2 separate regions of the Homo sapiens genome follow, and region 2 is linked to region 1. Evidence: promoter capture Hi-C in human tissues and cell types (Jung and others, 2019). All regions are on one chromosome and are shown on one strand. Each heading gives the region's core, a stretch centred on a gene start or on the middle of the fragment in contact. The rest is flanking DNA. Distances are from core to core; before and after follow the strand shown.

Region 1 (5,956 bases), core at 481-2,980:
CCAGCTCAACTGATCTTTCCCGAGTCTTCTCTGTCCCTTACCAAGAACCCTGAGCCCAGAACACACTCGCCATTCCCCAAAGGAGGCAGGCTGAGCCACACCTTCGCCTTTGCCCTAGATGGGCCTTCTGCCTGGAATCCTGTGCCCTTTCTCCTACTCTCTCGGAAGCTGTCTTCCTTAGCCATCAGAATTATTCCTGATTCGGGCCAAGCACAGTGGCTCACACCTGTAATCCCAGCACTTTGGGAGTCCGAGGCGGGTGGATCACCTGAGGACAGGAGTTCGAGACCAGCCTGGCCAACATAGCGAAACCCGGTCTCTACTAAAAATACAAAAACTAGCTGGGCGTTGTGGCATGTGCTTGTAATCCCAGCTACTAGGGAGGCTGAGGCAGGAGAATCACTTGAACCTGGGAGGCGGAGGTTGCAGTGAGCCGAGATCGTGCCACTGCACTCCAGCCTGGGCAACAGAGCAAGACTCCGTCTCAAAAAAAAAAAAAAAGAATTATTCCCTATTCATGTTTCTCTGGGCTGCTGTAACAGAAATCGGCTCTGGGCTGTATAAGCAAATGGAAGTATGAAGAGCAGCTCACAGGTGGAAAGGGATGGCCAGAAAACCGGGTTCAACCGGGGCAGGAACCTGGCAGCTGGCGGAGGGAGTGTGGCCCAGGCAGCAGCCTCCTCAATAAACAAGCGAATGCTCACTCCTTGCCCAGAACTGTCTGGCTCAACCCCAGCCATTTTTCCTCCTCTGCAATCAGGCTGCTAAGAATCAGAATCCCTGAGAGAAAATTCAGGGGGTCTAAGGTTTGTCAGGATTCTCAAACACAAGGTGTTCAAAATCAAAGTTAACCTTCCAAGCTAGCTTCTCCCACTCTTCCACATCTCTGCCAGTGGTATCACCCCGGCCATTAGCCCCTTGCTTCTTTCTCCCTCCCTCCCACATTACCAAGCCCTGTCAAGTCGACCTTGGAATGGCTTTGACCCTGTCCACCACTCAGCCAAACAACAGCAACGGCCGGCCCCGTCGCCACCCGCCTCGGCAGCCAGAGACCTTTTAACTCTGCCACTCGCCTACTTACCACCCTTCTAGGGTGCCCACGTCCCTCTGAAAAAAAAGGCTGAGCTCAGACTGGCCTCTGGTCAGCCTCCTCCCAGCCAGAGCTTTCTGTCACTGCCCTTCTAGGTGTTGAGTGGCTCTGCTTCCAGTTCTTGCCTGGAGACCAGGAGCGCCCGGGAGGCCCCAGCACTTTCCAGCCCACATAGACCTGCGTGCACCTCTGCCTCGTCTCCCTGAGCCCGGGCTGCCTCCTCTGTAAGATACATGCCACATAATGTCCGCCACACATGATCGCTGTGACAGTGGAAATAGCTGGGCGTTCAGCGACTCATTCGACAAATGTTTACCAGCACCTTTGGTACCGGGCGCTGTCCTGGACACTGGGGACACAGCAGGCAAACGGGGCCCTGCGTATAAATCCTTAAGCTCAAGAAGGAGGTGGGGGCAAAACTGTCAGGCCGGGAAGCTCTTCATCTCCGCAGGATTCTCCCTCAACCTCAGGACGTCCCCAGCACCGCACCTGCCAGTCCCAGACTCGGACGCCGCAGACCTGTGGGAGCAGCGCGGAATGCCCCGCCCCTTTTCCCGAGGACACCCAATGAGGGCGAGAGGTCACTTCCGGGGAGGGTTCGCTAACGGAAAGGGCGGGGCATCCCTCTCGAGGAGCGGCCTTGTTCCTCAAGCGGCCGCTGGGGGCGCCAGAGCAGGACCGGAGCGCGGGCCAAGCTGGAGGTGAGCGAGGCCGCGCCCCCCTGGGCCCCGGCCCTCCCAACGCGCCCTGACGGCTGGGCTCCGCCTGACCCTGTCCTAGCGTTCGCGGTGGCACCAACCTCAAGCCAGACCCTTGACTTCGACCCAACTCCACTCACCCGACTCCACTCACTCCACACCCCATGCCCCTCCCCCGACGCCCCTCACCCCGCCTCACCCTTCACCCCTCATCGCTCACGTCACCGCTCACCCGCCTCCTCACCCAGCCTCGCCCCTCACCCCTCACCCCGCCTCACCCCTCACCCCGCCTCACCCCTCACCCCTCATCCCGCCTCACCCCTCACCCCTCATCCCGCCTCACCCCTCACCCCTCCTCACCCCGCCTCACCCGCCTCGCCCCTCACCCCTCACCCCTCCTCACCCCGCCTCACCCCTCACCCCTCACCCCGCCTCACCCCTCACCCCGCCTCACCCCTCACCCCGCCTCACCCTTCACCCCTCACCCCGCCTCACCCTTCACCCCTCACCCCGCCTCACCCCTCACCCCTCACCCCGCCTCACCCTTCACCCCTCACCCCGCCTCACCCTTCACCCCTCACCCCGCCTCACCCCTCCTTACCCCGCCTCACCCGCCTCGCCCCTCACCCCTCATCGCTCACGTCACCGTTCACCCGCCTCCTCACCCAGCCTCACCCCTCACCCCGCCTCACCCCTCACCCCGCCTCACCCCTCACCCCTCCTCACCCCGCCTCACCCCGCCTCACCCCTCCCCCGCTCCCCTCACTGCACACTCCATACCCCACTCTCCCCACCTTACATCCCTCACCTCAGTCCTTCACCCCCTTAACCTAATCTCCATGTCCTCACACCATACACTCCTGATCCTGAAGTCTGCACACCCTGGGCTTCTCATTCCGTGCAGCCTGCCCCTCTTACCCTCACACCTGCCACACCTGGGACCCCGGAGTCCACACACCACCTCACACCCCAAGTTCCCACACGCACCTCTGGCTTCCTCCACCTGCACTTCAGGACCCGCCCAGACTCTTCATAGCCCAACTCCAAGACTTCTCTCCCACATCACAGGTGCATTCCCTTCCTGTGCTGCTCTCATCCCGTACAAAAGAGCACATCTCTGCACCAAGCATCCCTCTTATCCCCTCACATTCCTTGTTCTCAGAGGGATCCCAGACTCTGTTAGAAACTCTTCGTACCAGGCAAGACACTCAGACCACAAACCAGACTCTAGGCTCTGACTCGCTCAACCCCCGTCCTTCACACCTAAAGTGATACCCAAGCCAGACCCTACACTCCCGCCCCACGCTCCCGCCCCACACTCCTCCCGCCCCACGCTCCTCCCGCCCCACACTTCCGCCACCCATCCTAAGCTCCGTTCCATTGTGCTTTGGTGCGGGCTCAGGCCTCTTTCTCCACCCGTTCCCAGTCATCCCAGGCAACCTCATTAGGCAAGAAATGCCGTGAATTCTAATCCTGTGGCTGCTTCCTCCACATCAGCTCTCACACCCTCTCCCTGGATCTCCTTTTCAGATCCATCCCTCTTCTGAGATCCAGTGCCACTCCGGCCCAGCCTCCATCCTTCTAGCAGTCTCATGCTCTATCCCCAAATCTACCTGTGGCCACCCCAACGCCCCACTTATAGAAACTACATGTCTTTTCTATGCCTCTGCTTCACCCCAACCATCAACCACCCCTTAAGCCACTCTCATACTTGTGCTCTCAGTGTCCTTACCTTGTCCATCCACTGCATGTATGTTTACGTTCCCAGGCCTTCTACACTCCATCCACTGTCTCTGTGCCGTCTTAGGGTCCTGAGGACACTGTGGCCATGTGGCCTCAGTCACATGCCTAGGTGCCCCTAGGGAGGCATGCAGCTTTGATAAAGCTTTATCGTTCTCCTCAAACCAAGAATGTCTGTTGTTACAAGAAGAAACTTTTCATTGCCATTTATTAGGGAGTTAGAGACCATCGGGCCTGAAATCCCCCCCTTGCCATCCTACCTTGACCTCTACCTACCTTATTCTATCTCTACCTCCTTACCTTCCCTTACCTTCATAGGGTGAAATGACCCCTTACTTGTCTGAGACCAGTCCCTGCACCATCAGTTGCCCTTTCTTCTGATTCTTCAGGCTTTTCTGTCCAGGTAGCTCTTTCCACACAGCCTAGAAACGAAGAATTCAAAAAACAAAAAACCTTGACTCTGTATCACCTTCTAGTTACCTCCTGTTTTTTTCTCCCCTTCCCATCTAAATCTGTACACACAATCCATTTTGTCTAATGATCCATTAATTATTTAATTCATGAAATATTTTTACTTTTATGGCTCTCCTGAAACGTCTCACCGAGTTGACCAGTGACACCCAAATCAAATATCTTGAATTTACTGAGCCCTTTTTTTCATTTTGCAGAGGGGATCTTCCAGATCTTCCTCTGTAGCCTAGTCTAGAGTGCTGTGGCACAATTGTCCCACCTCACCCTCCTGAGTAACTAGGACTGGAGGTGCGCACCACCACACCCAGCTATTTTTAAATTTTTTTGTAGAGACTGTTGCCCGGGCTGGTCTGAAACTCCTGGCTTCAAGCATTTCTCCTGCTTTAGCCTCCCAAAGCACTGGGATTCCAGGCATGAGCTACCATGCCTGGGCCTGCCATGCCCAAATACTGTAATCTTTGACACTGGTGTAATATCTCCCAACTTAAAATAAAATACCCCTGTGACTCTACATTACATTCCAGGTACTGGCATGTTTCTCTGCTTCTCTTTGAAGTAAAACTCACCAGTTTCTACTTCTCCTTCCCTCTCTTTAGAAACATTTCGATTGGGCTCTTGTTCCAGCCACTCCATGAAAACAGCTCCTGTCAAGATTGCCAGTGTGACCTCCAGATTGTCAAATCCAGTGGTTACTTTTTATTTATTTTTGTTTTTGTTTTTTTGGAACAGAGTGTTGCTCTGTCACCCAGGCTGGAGTGCAGTGGCATGATCTCGGCTCACTGCAACCTCCACCTTCTGGGTTCAAGGGATTCTTCTGCCTCAGCCTCCTGAGTAGCTGGGACTACAGGCGCCCGTCACCATGCCCAGCTAATTTTTGTATTTTTAGTAGAGATGGGGTTTTGCCATATTGGCCAGGCGGGTCTCGAACTCCTGACCTTGTGATCCCCCGCCTCTGCCTTCCAAAGTGCTGGGATTACAGGCATGACCGACTAAGCCTGGCGGCTACCTCCACTTCTAACACTCTGGTCCAAGCCTCATCATTCCTTACCTGGAGTTTTGCAGCTGCCTCCTAAATGATGTCCCTGTTCCATGCTTTCCACCCCTTAGTCTATTCTCAACACAGAAGCCAGAGTGATCCTTTTAAGTCATTATTCAAATCACATCACCTTTGTCAGATTTTTCCAGTGTTTCCTCATCTCATTCAGAATAAAAATCGAAGTTCTGGCCAGGCATAGTGGCTCACACCTGTAATCCCAGGACTTGGGAGGCCGAAGCAGGCGGATCACCTGAGGTTCAGGAGTTTGAGACCAGCCTGGCCAATATGGCGAAACCCCGTCTCTACTAAAAATACAAAAATTATCTGGGCATGGTGGCGGGCACCTGTAATCCCAGCTACTTGGAAGGCTGAGGCAGGAGAATTGCTTGAACCTGGGAGGCGGAGGTTGTGGTGAGCCGATATGACGCCACTGCACTCCAGCCTGGGCAACAGAGTGAGACTCCGTCTCAAGAAAAAAAAAAAAAGAGTGTGTAGTGAGAAGAGAAGGGGCTAAAAGGACCTTCCTTGACCCATTAGAGCCAGTAAAGGAGAGAGCCAAGAAAGAGCAGGGAAGGAACTACCACAGGTGGACAGAGTTTGGAGAGAACAAGGTTAAAACATCAAGAGAAGAGAATTTTGAGCAGGAGAAAATGGCCAAATGTCAGTGCTGCAGAGATGTTAAATAAAAGAAAGACAGAAAGTGCCCTGGGTGTGCCAGTTATGACTTTGGTGAGAGCATTGTCAGTGAATGTCAGAGACAGATGCCAGATGACAGTGGAGTGAGGAGGACAGACAAACGTGTGAGGCCTGGCTGCTAAAGGAAGGAGAGGGAATAGCTATAGGAGAGGGTTAAGGAAGGTGTTCTGGACATTTCTTCCTCCCATCACCCACTATTAGCCCCCTGCCCTGCCACCTGCCTGT
Region 2 (5,313 bases), core at 23-2,522, 130 kb after region 1:
AGCGTCCGCACCCCCAGCCCTCCTCCAGGTTCACCTCCAGGGCAAGTGCCCGGCCCCTGCCCAGCATCCATGCCCCCAGCCCTCCTCCAGGTTCACCTCCAGAGCAAATGCCCGGCCCCTGCCCAGCGTCCGCGCCCCCAGCCCTCCTCCAGGTTCACCTCCAGGGCAAGTGCCCGGCCCCTGCCCAGCATCCATGCCCCCGGCCCTCCTCCAGGTTCACCTCCAGAGCAAATGCCCGGCCCCTGCCCAGCGTCCGCGCCCCCTGCCCTCCTCCAGGTTCACCTCCAGAGCAAATGCCCGGCCCCTGCCCAGTGTCCGCGCCCCCTGCCCTCCTCCAGGACACTTCTGTTTGAGTAGCACCTGCCACGTGCAGCAGGCTCACCCCAACCTCACTACCAAAAGTGCCACTGAGACAGATGAGGAAACAGACACTGCTCTCACTCCATTTTACAGACAGGGAAATGGAGGCAGAAAGGCCGTGGCGTGGCCTAAGTCCCGCTGGTGGCAGCAGTGGCGCAGGAGGTGAGCCCATGCTGCCAGCTACCAAGCTCAGGCTCAGCACCCCAAGGGGAGGGTTGGGCGGGACCTCCATGCTGTACAGCCCAGCTCGGCCTCTGCTTCCCCACAGCTGCACTCAGACCCCTCCCAGCTCCCTGGAGTCCCTCCTCATATCGCCCAGAGCCAGACAGTTCCCAGCAGGACAGCAAACGGGTGGGGATGGCTCTGGGCCCACGACAATAAGCGGGACATGTGTCCTGACCAGAGGGAGCACCCATTAAGCAGAAGATGGAAAGACCAAAATAACGCGTCCCTGTGTGCGAGTGCTGACGGAGGGCCCGAGTTCCTGGGGAAGATCAGGAACGGACAGCGGACCCACAAGAGGGCAAAGCCAGGCTGGGCGGGGGCCAGAGCAGGTGCCTGGTGGGGACGGGACCGCTTCCTGTCGGCTCCCTGTGTCCCCTCCCCAAGTAGCATTTGCAGCTGTCCGCCCAGTAGAAGGGCCCCTTGCACAGCAGCCCCAGAACGTGGAGCCACGTCGCACACCCTACACTCCACCCGATCCTGCAGTCCTGCACGCAGCGTCACCAGGGCTTGGGTGAGGTGCGTCTCTGCATCCCTGACTGGCCAGGCTGGGTCCCTCCACGTCCGAGCGGCTCTTACTGCGTGTGGTCGTTGGCTTCCCAGGCCTCCAGGATCCTCTGCACCAGGCAGCACTTCTGGAACAGCTGGGGGGCGGGGCAGGGGGACAGCGTGAGTCAGGGTCTGAAGGCGGCACGCACCCCTCCACCCATCCCTGGACTGGGCAGGGCTGGCTGGCGGCCACGTCTGTGTGGACTTTGCAGGCCCTGACTGCTGCGCACGCACAGCCCCAGCCTCCGCGGTCCTCACCAAACACCAGAGGAGGGTGCGGTTCGGGGCTCATACTGCTGAGCGCCCTAAAGATGAAGCCCGAGAAAAGGACCCTCTCCCTTCTCCTCCAACTCCTGGAATTGCCCCCTGACCCCTGTCTTCCCCTGGGCCTTCTCCCCGTCTCTCCATTGCCCTCCACTTTGGCCACTCTCCTGCCCTCTTTCTCTGTGTCCGGAAGAACGACTAGGGCTGTCTGCCCTCAGCACTTTCTCTCACCTCCAGGCCCTGACACAGATCACTTCTTGTACCTGAGATGTTTTTCCTGGGCTCCACCTCACACTACGATATACCTGTGGCCTTGCTATCCGGGTGACAGTCCCTGGTTGGCCTGCATGTCCCTCAGCATCCCCTCCCCACCGTGTGGCTCCCATCACTGACACTGCTGGCTCCCTGGGCATTTATTCCCTGGGCCTCCAGCTGGAGGCCAGACTGAACTCATCTCATCCAGTGCTAACCCTTGCCAGGCCTGCACGTGGAAGGCACCAGTACCCCTGCTGAAGGCAGGTAGGAATGAGATCTGCAAGACCCACTCAAGCCCCACTGTCTACGAGCGTCTGACCAGACACCTGGGGACCCTTTTCAAAGCCCTGCCCCCGTGTCAGCTGCACAGTGAGGTCCGGCACACGTCAGCGCTGACATGGACACGGTCTGAGTGGGGCGCAGTTGGCGCTGATAAGATGGATGCTTCTTGGACTCACGTGGGTCACCATTGTGTTGTCAGGGAGGCTGGCGGCCGGCTGGGGAGTCTCCAGGCTCCGGTTCCCGTTCTCATGCGGAGGCTCCACCCTGCTCTCGGATCCGCTGGCTTCTGTCCTCTCCTCACGGGCAGCGTGGGAGAGAATAGCGGCTATGCATAGTTCCACTTGGAAGTGCAAAAAGTTATTCCAGGTGTACTTAAAGAACAAGTCCTGGGTAAACAGAGGACAGAAGACAGTTCTTAGATCGGTTTTCTCCTGCCGGCTACACCACAAAGCTGAGGGAAACCCTTCCTAAAGGTGGCGTCCTAACTCCTCACAAGTCCAGTCTCTGGGTAGCTAGGAAGGAGTTTTAAGCGTTTTCCTGAGGGTCATCTCTCTATTACGGAGCTTCTTCAAATAGCCACTGAGCACTTCTGCCTCCTGCCTGTGGGTGTCTGTTGGTCTCTGCTTCAATCTGAATCATCACCTTTCTACTTTCTGCGGGTTTATTCTTTTTTTTTTTTTTTTTTGAGACGGAGTCTTGCTTTGTCTCCCAGGCTAGAGTGCAGTGGCACGATCTCGGCTCACTGCAACCCCTGCCTCCTGGGTTCAAGTGATTCTCCTGCCTCAGCCTCCCTGGTAGCTGGGATTACAGGTGCCCACCACCATGCCCAGCTAATTTTTGTATTTTTAGTAGAGACGGGATTTTGCCATGTTGGTCAGGCTGGTCTTGAACTTCCAACCTCAGGTGATCTGCCCGCCTCCGCCTCCCAAAGTGCTGGGATGACAGGCATAAGTCACCAGGCCTGGCTTCTTTTGTCCTTCAGTTGGAAGCTCAACTCATTAATTGCAGCCTTTCTTTCCAGTCTGTCTTTAAAGGCTACATTTCCCTGTATACAATCAACTTTAACTACATTCTACACATTTTGCTAAGTAGTATTTTTATGATTCTTCAGTTCTAAGTATGTGAGAAGTTCCTTTATGATTCTGTCTTTCTCATGAATTATTGGAAGTGTGTTAGACTCTCAAGCACATGAGGATTCCACCCAGGATGGGCAGGCGTGTGCATATCGTCCACCACACAAACGTGAGACTGTGAGGGGCACATTCAGACACTCCCCAAGGGAGCCCAGACTTAACCAGCATGGGCTGAAGCCCAGAGGTGGTTCTGGCCACCTAGATACTCCCCTGGGGGACAGAGGTGGCTGAACGAGGACAGCTGCCATCTCTCACCTCCCATGTAGCTTCTTCCAGATGAGGACAGAGAGGGGGACATAGGTCTGACGCACTCGCCCCCCACTGCCGTCTCTTACATTCCAGGGCCACGGCAGCCTGTGTCCCAGACCCTCTTCTGCCTCCATGGAGAAGGAGGACTGTATGGAGAGGGGAATGGGGTGAGGTGTATATTCCACACCAGGATTCGAGCTTGGGCTCCTCGTTCCACACAGTGGGGTTGGAGCTAGAGAAAGGCAGGAGGCTCATTTGCTTCATGTTCTCCACAGAAACGTAGTCCTAAATCCTGGCTTCACCTTCTCTGCCCATGTGACCTTGAGCAACCTTGGAGGAGGCTTTCCTGTGTCACCTCATCTGTAACATGGAGTCAGACCTACCTCTCAACAAAAAGCCCGTACCAGATGGCTTTGCTGGTAAATTCTACCAAACATTTATTTTGTTGTTTGTTTTTCCTTTCCTGGCGATGAGGTCTACCAAACATTTAAAGAAGAGTTAACACTAATCCTTCTCAAACTCTTCCAAAAAACTAAGAGAGAATACTTTCTAATTCATTCTGTGAGGACAGAATTACCTCTGATACCAAAGCTGAATGAGGACACTACAAGAAAAGAAAACTACAAACCAATGTTCCTTATCAACATGGATGCAAAATACTAGCAAACCAAACTTAGCATCATATCAAAAGAATTATATACCAGGATAAAGTGGGATTTGCTCCTCAAATGCAAGGATGGATCGACGTATGAAAATCAATCAATACACCACATTAACAGGATAAAGGACGAAAGCCAAATGATCATCTCAACTCATACAAAAAAAATCTGATAAAATTCCACATACGGCCAGGTGCGGTGGCTCATGCCTGTAATCCCAACACTTTGGGAGGCCGAGGAGGGTGGATCACCTGAGGTCAGGAGTTCAAGACCAGCCTGGCCAACGTGGTGAAACCCCATCTTTACTGAAAATACAAAAATTAGCCGGGCATGGTGGCACACGCCTGTAATCCCAGCTACTTGGGAGGCTGAGGCAGGAGAATCGCCTGAGCCCAGGAGGCGGCGGTTGCCGTGAGCCAAGATCATGCCACTGCACTCCAGCCTGGGCAACAAGAGCAAAACTCTGTCTCAAAAAAAAAAAAAAATTCAACATACTTTCTTGATAGAACACTCAAACTAGGAATAGAAGGAAATATCTTCAGTATGATAAAGGCACCTATGAAAAGCCCATAGCTGACAACATATTCAATGCTGAAAGACTGAAAGCTTCTCTAAGATCAGGAGCGAGGCAAGGATGCCCACTCTCACCACTGCTATTCGGTCTTCTCTTAGCAGTCCCAGCCAGAGCAATTAGGCAAGAAAAAGAAATAAAAGGCATCCAAATGGTAAAGGCAAAAGTAAAATTATCTTTGTTCCCAAATGACATGATTTTTTTTTTTAGAATATGTATTTTTTTTTTGAGCAAGGATCTTGCTCTGTTGCCCTGGCTGAAGTACACACAGTGGCGTGATCTCGGCTCTGCAGCCCTGACCTCCCAGACTCAAGTGATCCTCCCTCTTCAGTCTCCTGAATAGCTGGGACTACAGATCTGTGCCACCACACCTGCCTAATTTTTATTCTTATTTATTTTGTAGAGACCAGGTCTCACTATGTTGCCCAGGCTGGTCTTAAACTCTTGGGTTCAAGCAATCCTCCTGTGTAGGCCTCCCAAAGTGCTGGGATTACAAACATGAGCCACCACACCTGACCTGATATGATCTTACACATAGAAAATTCTAAATATTCCAGATAAATTGCTAGAGCTAATAAATGAATTCAGCAAAGTTCTAGAATACAAAATTGACACACAAAAAAGCAGCTGCATTTCCATACACTAGCACTGAATAATCCAAAAAGGAAAGTAAGAAAACAATTTTATATATGACAGCATCCAGAAGAATTAAGTCAAGGAGATAAAAGATTTGTACACTGAAAACTACAAAACACTGCTACAAGAATTT

The links. Contacts are between HindIII fragments. The study calls those that stand out against the background at their distance.
Region 2: a contact is called between a fragment that was not itself captured here and the fragment with the promoter of SYCE3 in region 1, in 7 of the 25 tissues and cell types used here (H1 embryonic stem cells, dorsolateral prefrontal cortex, hippocampus and 4 more).

Annotation. Positions count from the first base shown.
Region 1 is chr22:50,558,693-50,564,648 of GRCh38, reverse strand. SYCE3 (synaptonemal complex central element protein 3) reads left to right here and starts at 1,730. Exons shown (of 3, transcript NM_001123225.3): 1 at 1,730-1,791. LOC107985568 (a long non-coding RNA gene) reads right to left here and starts at 1,688. Exons shown (of 2, transcript XR_001755606.3): 1 at 1,082-1,688. RefSeq lists silencers at 1,629-2,038, 3,109-3,307. The HindIII fragment of the contact is 12,147 bases long and covers 1-5,956 here.
Region 2 is chr22:50,428,178-50,433,490 of GRCh38, reverse strand. It overlaps PPP6R2 (protein phosphatase 6 regulatory subunit 2), which reads right to left. Exons shown (of 24, transcript NM_001242898.2): 11 at 2,109-2,318; 12 at 1,162-1,226. Among named protein-coding and RNA genes, the nearest start is that of MIR12114, 23 kb to the right of the region's middle. The HindIII fragment of the contact is 9,141 bases long and covers 1-5,313 here.